Regions from separate parts of the Homo sapiens genome. Here region 1 is linked to region 2. Evidence: promoter capture Hi-C in human tissues and cell types (Jung and others, 2019). All regions are on one chromosome and are shown on one strand. Each heading gives the region's core, a stretch centred on a gene start or on the middle of the fragment in contact. The rest is flanking DNA. Distances are from core to core; before and after follow the strand shown. Region 1 overlaps NLK (nemo like kinase). Region 2 holds the start of TMEM97 (transmembrane protein 97).

Evidence for each region. Contacts are between HindIII fragments. The study calls those that stand out against the background at their distance.
Region 1: a contact is called between a fragment that was not itself captured here and the fragment with the promoter of TMEM97 in region 2, in 1 of the 25 tissues and cell types used here (IMR-90 fibroblasts).

The regions. Positions count from the first base shown.
Region 1 is chr17:28,144,357-28,149,840 of GRCh38, forward strand. The region is part of intron 3 of NLK (nemo like kinase); the gene reads left to right. LOC105371711 (a long non-coding RNA gene) reads left to right here. Exons shown (of 2, transcript XR_007065686.1): 2 at 1-5,484. Among named protein-coding and RNA genes, the nearest start is that of NLK, 100 kb to the left of the region's middle. The HindIII fragment of the contact is 4,609 bases long and covers 1-4,355 here.
Region 2 is chr17:28,317,831-28,323,348 of GRCh38, forward strand. TMEM97 (transmembrane protein 97) reads left to right here and starts at 1,370. Exons shown (of 3, transcript NM_014573.3): 1 at 1,370-1,535. The coding sequence starts at 1,410. RefSeq lists enhancers at 1-474, 694-953, 1,434-1,493. The HindIII fragment of the contact is 5,118 bases long and covers 1,092-5,518 here.

The sequences.
Region 1 (5,484 bases), core at 801-3,300, 170 kb before region 2:
CACGCTAGCTCTTTGAAACACCTGTGTTCCAGGTGAAGCCAAAAAAAAAAAAAAAAAAACTAAAGCTTGAATCTAGTCTTTTCACCTCTCCATTAAAAAATAAATATATCTCTAAAACTTCCCAGCTGGTGGGAATGAAATGCTGTCAGTGCTCCCAACTGTTAGAGGGTAATATTGAATAATAACAAAGCCACACTTAATTTGAGCTTCTGAAAAGCCTCATAACCTCATTATCATTCTCCTGAACTGCTTAACCTTCTGGTTAACCTTCTGATTATTAACCTCTTGACATACTTAATTCAGGTGTGAGAGTTTAGCGAAGCTCATGGGACTGTATTTATTTGATCTTTTTTGTCATGTCCCACTGTGTTGACTTTATTTTTTAAGATTGCTAGACACCAGGAGGCATGTGTTAGGTGGAGACCTAGAGGTTTCAGAAGCCACTAAATATATCAGACTTGCCATAATTGGAGGATATGGTGAATCAGTGGGGCTTTTAGGCACTTCATAGACCAGCTGAGTCTCCTGCTATCAACCCAATTTATTTGAGAGCAGTACCTCAGGAAACTTAATAGACCTGTAGCACACTAGCACAAATCTGGATTTTAGCCAGAGTACAGTTTATTTATGTGCTGCTTGTATTATTTTGCTCTCTGCATATTCTATGCCTGTCATTATTAAGTATTAATCAAAAATATTGAATTGTATCTTTGGCAGTGGGTTTAAAAATTACACGTTTAATTGATAGTTTACATCACTTAGAGGTGGCAAGAGAACCAGATGGTAGAAAATAGGATCAGGTTGAAGTGGCATTTTTTTTACCAAAGAAAATATGATTTGCATGAGTAAGCAAAGTTTTGGGGTTTTTAATGTGTGCTTTTGTTTTGGGGGGATATGGGGACTATTAATCAGTTATAGAATATTAATCCTTTTCTGTAATTAGGGTTAAATATGAAGAATACTAATCTGATAGGTAATATTTATCACTCTGAGCTCAAGACTAAGAAACGCTTCAGGTTATTAACCCTTTACCAAAACCAGGAGTTACCTTCTGTAGAGGTTCTCAGAGGTCTCACAGAAACTAGTACTTTTAATTGTTCCCTCAAGTTCCCATCTGTCAAAAATATGTCCTGTAGAAAACCTTTCTTGGTGTAAGTCAAGGGCTTTTTGTCCTTTGAGTGAATGAGTAAACTCTAAAGGAATGTGACTGTCACGGACATGTTTCTTTGATGCCAAAAACCCTGCATGAGACCACATTAATAAAAAGTGAATAAAGTTTTTCTCCTTCTTCATTGATGATATCCTTTTGAGATGGCCTAGTCTTTCCTTTTGAGATCACAGTGGCTTAAAGGAGCATTTTTTTTTTTTAAAGACAGTCTCACTCTGTCACCCAGGCTGGAGTGCAGTGGCATGATCTCAGCTCACTGCAGCCTCCACCTCCAGGGTTCAAGGGATTCTCCTGCCTCAGCCTCCTGAGTAACTGGGATTACAGGTGCCCGCAACCACACCTGGCTAATTTTTATATTTTTTAGTAGAGACAGTGTTTCACTGTGTTGGCCAGGCTGGTCTTGACTCCCGATCTCAGGTGATCCACCCACCTCAGCCTCCCAAAGTGCTGGGATTACAGGCATGAGCCACCGCACCCAGCCAAAAGGAGCTTTTTTGAGTGGTTGCCAGTTTCTTTGTTCCTTATATTCTTTTGCTTTTTTCCCTGGGGAGAATGTTGGAAAGAAATAGGGGCACATTCATACATTTTGAAAAAGGCCATGGACTTTGATATCAGGCAGCTCTGAGTTCAAATCCTGATTTTTTTTCCTCCACTTACTAGCTTTTTGACCTTCAAAAAGTTACTTGATACTCTTCCCTAAGCCTCAGTTTCCTCAATGATAATGGAGATGATATTCTTACTCACAGTTATTTTAAAGGAATAAATGAATTAATGTACGTTGAACATTTGGCATACCACCTAGCATGTATTGATGTTTTAAAAAAAACTCATTTCCCCTCCTCCCTCATATAACGATGTTGATGATGATGATGATGATGATGACGATGATGATGATGATGATAGCAGCTACCACCTAAATCGTTTTCTGTGTGCCAGGCATTTATATGTGATTCTAAATCCTAGCAGTAACTCTGTGTAGTAGGTGTTCCTGTACCTGTTTTATAAATGCAGGAACAGACTCAGAGAAGTTATTTAACTTGCCTAATGTTATCAAGCTACTAAGTGGCAGAGTCAAGATTCTAACCTTGGTCATTTTGATTCCAAAGCCTACAACAAACACACCGCCTCCCACTGCTGAACCTGTTAACTCCTTATTTTAAAAATCAATTTCCAGGCCTTCTCCCTCCTGAAGTAGAATTGTTTTGTTCTTACCTCTTTTTTTAGTTTTCTATTTTTGAAGTTTACTTTATCTTTTGAAGGACAGAGTACAAGAACGAGGGCTGTGATCTAGTGCCACGTCCGCTGCACACTAAGACCTTTGACTAATTTCTTTACCTCTCTAAACCTCTTTGCTCTGTATAATGGGAACCCATAATGGGACTTACTTCTTACAGTAATTAGGAGTAGGTGAGGCAAAATAAATTTAAAGCTGGATGCCTAACACATAGAAAATTGCAGTAAATTTCAGCTGTTTTCAGTCAGGCTTCTTTGTTCATTTACATTAAAATCTTTTTGCACCTTCTTGCCCTCTCTCCTTGATTTTTACATGTCAATGTCAGTCTTTTTCCAACCTCTTGGCTGTTGCCTTGCATTCATCCATCTTTTTTCTCAGTCTTGTCATTGAGTTAACATGTTCTCTACACCCACTTAGTACCCAGTCAGTGTTTATTGATGCTAATGATGATGGTTAAACAAAGATGCTGTTGGCACCAGTCCTGAAGGCTCTGAGACTCCCTGAGTAATCATGACTTCCTAAAAACAGAAAAGTACTCAATCATCTTATTTATAATTGAAGGTCAGAATTTGATGTCAGCATTTGTTTCTGTGGTGACTGTGTAGCTTTTTCTGAGGAATTACCTTTGACAGTTGGGGTAGTCAGTATTTCTGGTGTGAGGCTGATTATTATGCATTCTTAAATTACTTCCTAAAATAGATGCAGCATCGTATAGGTGGGTTAAACAAATATTGATCATGGTACAGATCTGCTTTAATTGGAGCAAGAGGTCAGGAGAGGCTTATCATTGAGGTGTAGATGGCTGCCAGGCTCTAGATTAGTTACCTGGTCTTCTTGCCCATAATCTTTTTTGCGTCAGAGAAAATTGTACAGGCCTATTTTTAATTCTAAGCAACCCTCTCTGTTCTCTCCCTTTTTGATATCTCTAATATGTTCCCACCTAATGTCCTTGATCTTCAGAAGATGTCTCATTTCTTGCTTTTTCTTGCCTCAAATTCTGTCCTCCATGATAACGTTTTCTTCCTCAGCAAATTTTGTGGGAATCTAGCAGGATGTGCTGCTTGTTATATTTGGGCACTGTCCACTAACAATTCAGCTGCTGACACTGGTTGCATTATTCTAAAGAATGTCATGTTGTTAAGGTTGAATTTAAAACCCATTAATGGTGAGAAGCTTCCATAATTTTAATATCCAGGTTTTTTAATAAAAGAAGGAAAGAAATGGAAAAATAAATTTTAAAGATAAACTTTTATGCAAATGAAAAGCAGATTGTAACCAAATGCAAATAAATACCTCAGTGTGGCATATTTCATTTAGTAGAAAGTAGAAATTGTTAATTTTTACTGTATCTAATGATTCCCAAACTTATATTTTTAACTTTGATCTCCCATCAAAGGCCTGTCCTGTATTTCCAGCAATCTCTCATTTAGACTTTAAAAAGAAATCTGTAAAGGGCTACTAGTCCAAGCCCTGTACCCTGCCCCCACCCCCCCACAAAAAGTAGCCAGGAGTTCCTTTTTTTATATACACATGCACATAAACATTTATACACATTTATACATACGTATGCACTAACTTTTTAGTTCTCATGCACTTAAAAAATATGAGGGGATATGAATCTATTTAAGCATATATGATTCATAAGTGCAGGGAAAATGTTTCTTGTATCGTCAAGATTATTTTTATAATTTGACTAAAGAAGGGTAAGAGGTAAAATACTTGAAGGAAGTGAATACTCAGGAGGTTAGAAAGAGACACTGAGACAAAGAGAATGAGGTAGCAAAATTTGCCTCTTGATTTTTTTAACCTTTTTATTTTTCAGTCATTGGCCAAAAGGGTATCATTATTTGTCAGACATTTCTTCACTAGCAGTTTAGACTTGTTACGTGGAAATAGCCACAAGTTGTTATGAGGATTAAATGAGGTGACCTATGTTAAAAGTGGCACATGGTAAGCTCAAAAATACTTTTCAGCAAACAGATAAATCCTCTGCAAATGTGGGATTATTTCTTATTTTGGTTGTGTTCTGCCAGTAACAGAACTAAGACTAAAATTCAGGTGCTGGAAGAAATGAATAAAAGTACTTGGGTGGATTGAGCAGTTACTTCAGGTGTCTTTGGATTCAATTTCTTCTGAAAGGAAAGACTAAACCTCAAAAAGAGAAAAATTAGTTATTTAGCATAACCTGCTACTTGTGTTGTGGGGATTCATGAAATAGTTCATATGAAGTACTTAAAGAAGTGTCTGGCACATAGTGAGCACTCAATAAATGTCCATTTTATTTTTATTACTTTTCATGTTGTTGTTAAAAAACGTTTTTTTGAGACAGGGTCTTGCTCTGTCGCCAACGCTGGAGTGCAGTGGCAATCAGAGCTCACTGCAGCCTCGAACTCCTGGGCTTAAACTTAAAATCCTTTCACTTTAGGCACAAGTAGCTGGGAATACAGGTGCGCACCACCACACCCAGCTAATTTTTAAATTTTTTTGTAGAGACGGGATCTCTTTATGTTGCCCAGGCTGGTCTTGAACTTCTGGCCGTAAGCAATCTTCCTGCCTCGGCCTCCCAAAGTGCCGGGTTTATAGGTGTGAGCCACTGTATCTGGCTTAAAGAAATTTGTTAAGGATGAACCATTTTAGGAAACCAAATATGAGTGTATGTGTTTTTCATACAGTATAGATAAATTGCCAATTAGTTTGCACATCTAATTCAGAAATTTGTAGGTGCTGAAGAAAGCTTTTTTGTTGATGGTTTCTCACTTGTTGAAATCTCTTTAGTTATTGGAAATTAGTAATTCTAATTTAGAGATTTATCTCTTTAGAAGAATATATCTTTGTTGTGCAACTTTGTTGCTCTTATTCCTGGTGGCTCTATGATGGCAAGTCTGGCTTATTCAATTGAAAATCAGAACCTAAGGAGCTTTATGAGATGAATAGCCATAACAGTGTTGTAATCTTTGAGTGAATTGCAGTTGCTTGTTTAATTGTCTGTCTCCCTTGTTAGGCTGTTGAGTTTCTCAGTGAAAGCAGTGGGCTGTCTTGTACACCACTGCATTTCTAGTACCTAGATTGGCATCTTGTACAT
Region 2 (5,518 bases), core at 120-2,619:
GAGTGCATCTCTCTCCAGCTACTGCCCCATGTCTTCTCCCCTTCGTGACCAGCTGTCTACACTTCCTGCCTCCATTTCCCCACTTTCTTACTCCCTGGCTCCTGCCCCCACGACACAACTGTTCCCCACAGGGCCACAGGCGGGCATCACTCAGTGTTGACAGGCTGCCCCTCCCTGTGACATAGCCCCCTGCTAGTACGCTCCTATCTCAGTCCCCTCCTCCCATGACCTGAGGCTGGAGCTCCCCCAGGATCTCTCCCAGGCCCTCTGCTCGCCATCAAAGGCGGATGCCTCACAAGCTTACGACTCCAGACAGGCTCACCCAACTGCCTCCTCCACCCAACGCTGCAGCCCACTCAAGGTCCACGTAGTCCAAGCTGCATTCCTTCCTCGCACTCCCTTGCCCTGTGTCCCCTCTTAGCAAATGGCAGCCTCGGCGATCCTGCCCCGAGACAGGCCTGCGCCCAGCGTGGAGATGAACATCAGTATTTGCTGAACGTGTAAACGAATCCTTGACCTTCCCTCATGCTCCACAGCCGGTGAGGATTCCTGTCCATTTTACTGCCTCCTACGTCCCTCGAGTCCTCCCCTCTGCTTCTTTGTTCACCGCGGCCAGCTGCCTCCCCAGACCCGCAACCCCGGCTGGGCCGGGAACCTGCACCGCGGCGCTCGTGCCCCGCTCTGCGACCCCTGCTCCGTGACGGCCGCACTGCACCGGGGTACCGCGGCCCAGCACAGGCGCTGGTCACTAGTACACGAACTAGCTAGGACTACAGGTGCACACCACCACACCTGGCTAATTTTTTATTTTTTGTAGAGATAATGTCTTACTAAGTTACCCAGGCTGGTCTTCTGGGCTCAAGCCATCCTCCTGCCTCGGGCTCCCAAAGTGCAGACATTACAGGCATGACCCACCGTGCACAGCGTCAGCTTTATTTTTTTAATGCTGACTTACTGCAGAAGGCCCAAGGGCCAGTGCAGTTTTCATACTGCTGTTGTAGTGGCGAACGGAGCCACGAGGGAAGGGAGCGCCGCCGGCAGCTGCCGGGACACCAGGATACCACGCGGCCAGCACCGAAACGCTAGGCTCGCGCTCACAACCGCAATCTACACTGAGTAGCCGCGCGCCGAACGGCGTGACTAAGCCCCGCCCACACGGCGCTCCTGGCGGCCAATGGAAATGGCTTACGAGACGCCTTCTCCACGCGCTATACTTATACGGACCAATGGGTGCGCCCTGTGGGGAGTGCCGCCCCCTGTCCACGAGCCTCCTCTTCTCGCCAGCCAATGGAAGCGGTCTGCCTAGCCCTCGCGGGGGCAAGGCGGCGACCGAGGCGCGTGGGTCTGGGAAGGCGCGCGGATTTGGCCCCTCTTCTCACATCAGCGGGTCCAGGCCCAACCGACAGACTATGGGGGCTCCGGCAACCAGGCGCTGCGTGGAGTGGCTGCTGGGCCTCTACTTCCTCAGCCACATCCCCATCACCCTGTTCATGGACCTGCAGGCGGTGCTGCCGCGCGAGCTCTACCCAGTCGAGGTGAGGGGCGCCCCTCTTATCCCGGCCCGCTGAGGCTCTCCCGGCGCTGCGTCCACAGGGCCTTCACCTCCTCCGCGCTCGCGCACTCTGGGTTCCAGTTGCCTCTCTCGGGTCCTGCCCATGCCTCCCCCGCTCCTAACCCAACTTTAGTTCGGTGTTTTCCTCGGGCTTTGTCTCTATCCCAGCCCCTTCTCCCAAGCGGCGGGGGCGAACGCTTTGTTTCCTTTAAAGTCACTTCTTCCCTGGGTTTAAGGTTTCCCGCGATTCCACCTCTGGCCGGTTGTCAGTGTCTGAGGGAAGTAGTCTGGATGAAGTGGTGTCCAAAGTCACATGTTAGGTTTGCTTTAAGCTTCTGGTTTTTTGTTTGTTTGTTTGGAAGGGCTTTAAAATACCAGTCTGATCCCAAAGAAAAAATCCGAGTAGAAATAGACCTGTCTGAAGGTTTAGCACCTTGGTTGGTGCAGCTGGGGCGTTCACAGATCGTCACTGCTTCGAGATCAGGTTCCAGCAACTTCCAGAGCTCAGGAGTAAATTGCCATCTTTTCAGATTGGCTCTTCAATATTGGGTTCGAGTAACAATGATCTCCTGAGTAAAAATAAAGGTGAAAATCCCGATTTCCTGGTTGTTGGAGAGCATTCTTTCAACCCCAAACTCTGCTTTAATGCTTTGTTTTTTTCTTCAAAGCTATAGTTTTAGTTTCCCGGTTCGTTGAGGTTTTTTTCTCGTATCTGGACCCTGTGACCTTCTTCCATGGAATTCCTGTCCTCAGTTTTGTTTCTCCATCTTATCTATAACTGTAGGCAGGACTGACTTGTCTACCCGAAGATTTTATTTTGCGTCTGTTTTTCCTTAAATGCTTTTTATCTGCCGAGGAGGGGTTCTTTACCTGAGGGTCATGAACTCCCAAAAATGGGTGCAAGTGTGTGTGCCTTTTGTTTCCTGCAAGGAGAATATAGCTTCCATCGACTTTTCAAGGGGCCTAACTCTCCCAAAAAGGCCACGGCTCAAGAATGTTCTACCACTCCCATAAGTCACTCTTTTTTGTTTGCTTCTAGAACCAAACACAACTGGAAGACCTCTGACCTCCTTTTGCATGGGAAAAGCGTAGGTAGCGTGTAGCAAGTTGCAGTCTGGGGACTTGGTTCTTCCAAGAACTGGAGGTGACTTGGGCAGGTCAGGGCTCTATATCCTCCTCAACTGTTGAGAGAGTTGAGTTAAATTATAAGCTCAAACATATACAGGGTGGGTTAGTTTTCATATTGCTGTTGTAGTTACCACAAATGTAGTGATTTAACAGATTTATTTGTTTACAGTTCTGGAGGCCAGAAGTTCACAATGAAATCTTACAGTGCTCAAATCAAGGCAGGGCTCACTCCTTCTGAGGGCTCCAGGGGAGAATCTGGTTCTTGCCTCTTCCATTTTCTGGTGGCTGCCAATGTTCCTTGGCTTGTGTTCACGTCACTTCAATCTCTGCTTCGGGTCATCACATTGCCTCCCTTTCTGTAGTCAGAGTTCCCTCTGCTTCGCTTTTATAAAGACACTTGTCATACATTCAGGGCCCACCAGATAACCCAGAAAATCTCCCATTTCAAAATCCTTAATTACATCTGCAAAGTCCCTTTTGCCAAATAAAGTAATAGTCACAGGTTCCAGGGATTAGGATGTGGTTATCTTTGGGGGCCATTATTCAGCCTACTACAGGGCCAGAGAGTACAGACTCTTCCCAAAGACCGAAGAGGTCATCGCAGCTCTGCAGTAACCATTAATTGCCCTGAAGAAAGGAAAATCTACTACAGTGTTGGCCTATCTGTGGTTTTTGAAACCTGTGTGGCCAGCAATACTCAGACAGGCTGCCTGTTTACAATCTCTGGTGTTATAGGACCTTTTAATACTTGGTAATTAGCCTGCTACTCCATGTAGCCATTCCAGACTTCACAGCTGTTGTCTTCTTTATCCTTCCTGGATGTGCCATTCTCACAAGCCCGTCTTGCTCACCCCTAACAAAATACACTTAAAAGGTGCTCAGCATCATATCATAAAGATCCCATTTAAATGTTTACATTTGATAAAATTTTCTCAGTCTTTTTTTTAGAAACAGGGTCCTTTGTCACCCAGGCTTGGCGTGCTGTGATGCAGTCATGGCTTACCACAGCCTTGAACCTGAGCACAAGAGATCCTCCCACCTGTCTCCTGAGTAGCTAGGACTATAGGTGCACACCACCACACCTGGCTAATTTTTTATTTTTTGTAGAGATGATGTCTTACTGTGTTACCCAGGCTGGTCTTCTGGGCTCAAGCCATCCTCCTGCCTCGGGCTCCCAAAGTGCTGAGATTACAGGTGTGACCCACCGTGCCCAGCGTCAGCTTTATTTTTTTAATGCTGACTTACTGCAGAAGGCCCAAGGGCCAGTGCAGGCAGCATCTGGCCAGAACCTGTGTGTGTGTGTGTGTGTGTGTGTGTGTGTGTGTGTGTGTGTTTGTGTGAGATTTAGGCATTAGCACGGGCATCCTGGGTGTGTGTGTATCTGTGTGTGTGATGATGTTTGAAGGCATTAGCTCGGTGGCATCCTGGCATGGAAGGTCTGTGCCTCCATTCTTGTTGCTTTGGTGTAGGAAATGCTGATTTTGTTGCTTCTCTATGGGGCAAATAATAATAAACGCCTTGAGTTATTCTCATATTCTCTTTGAAAAATGCCAAAATTTAACATCTGTCATTTTCTTCCTGAAATAGAAGGAATGTTTCCCTAGAGTTAAAAAACCTGTAGGAGATCACCTAGTGGTTGGGCTGAAACATGCACAATAAATTTTTTTTCTTGGATTGCACCAAATCACTGCTTGGAAAAACTCATTTTTTTATTTACTTTTTGTTTTTCTTTCTTTTTTTTTTTTGATTTTGTTTTTGAGACAGTCTCTTGTCGCCCAGGCTGTAGTGCAGTGGTGCAATCTCGGCTCACTGCAACCTCTGCCTCTCGGGTTCAAGCAATTCTCCTGCCTCAGCATCCCAAATAGCTGGGATTACAGGTGCTTGCCACAACGCCTGGCTAATTTTTATATTTTGTTATAGATGGTGTTTCACCATGTTGGCCAGGCTGGTCTCAAACTCCTGACCTCAAGCGATCTGCATGCCTCAGCCTCCCAAAGTGCTGGGATTACAGGTGTGAACCACCACGCCTGGCCTGGAAAAACTCTTATTTTATTATGAAACAGTAAGAATTTAGTTTGGATAAGAACATGGTAAGGAGAGGATGGGAAGCATTTTGTAGTATCATTTGCAGCTGGGTAACATTGCTTCTGGTAAAAATAAGGAAAAACAAGTGAGCATCTGGCTCTGAAATCAGTCTGTGTTCCCATTCTAAATTATAGAAGTACAAGATTGGTGAGTAGCAACCACTGGTTTAGAGATCGTGCGTGCAGGCCAGGTGAATCTTTTATGTATAACAAGGGTGGGTTGAGTCAAATAGAGTCAGGTATAAGTGGAAACAGTTTCATTACCTTTGGTAGGGAGGCCATAACTAATAATTTTTAATGACCAGTCGTGAGCTGCGATTTTAATGGGATTAAACTTGAATATCTCCAAATATGTATTAATTACATTCAATTAATCATTATGTGCTAGCCATTATTTTAAAGACTACATGTATTAAGTCACTCTCTTACCAATAGTGAAGTAGGCACTATTACTGGCTCTATTTTATTGATGGGGACACAAGTGTAGGGAGATTAAAGGCCTTGCCTAAAGCCAGGCACTCTACCCCAGGTCCTACACGCCTCACCCATCTGCCAGGTGCCTGGGCTTTCTACTCTCCTACTCACAATTAGTCCCAGCCTCATTCTGGCATCAGGTGGCAGGTATATGACTGTGGGCAGATGGTTGGTTACGATTATGATAATTCATTATTACGACATCTGGGTGATTGTTTTTTAAATTTTGCTGATCTCATCTTGTAGGCCTTAGAAATTAAAGTGCTGTACAAGTCTGCCT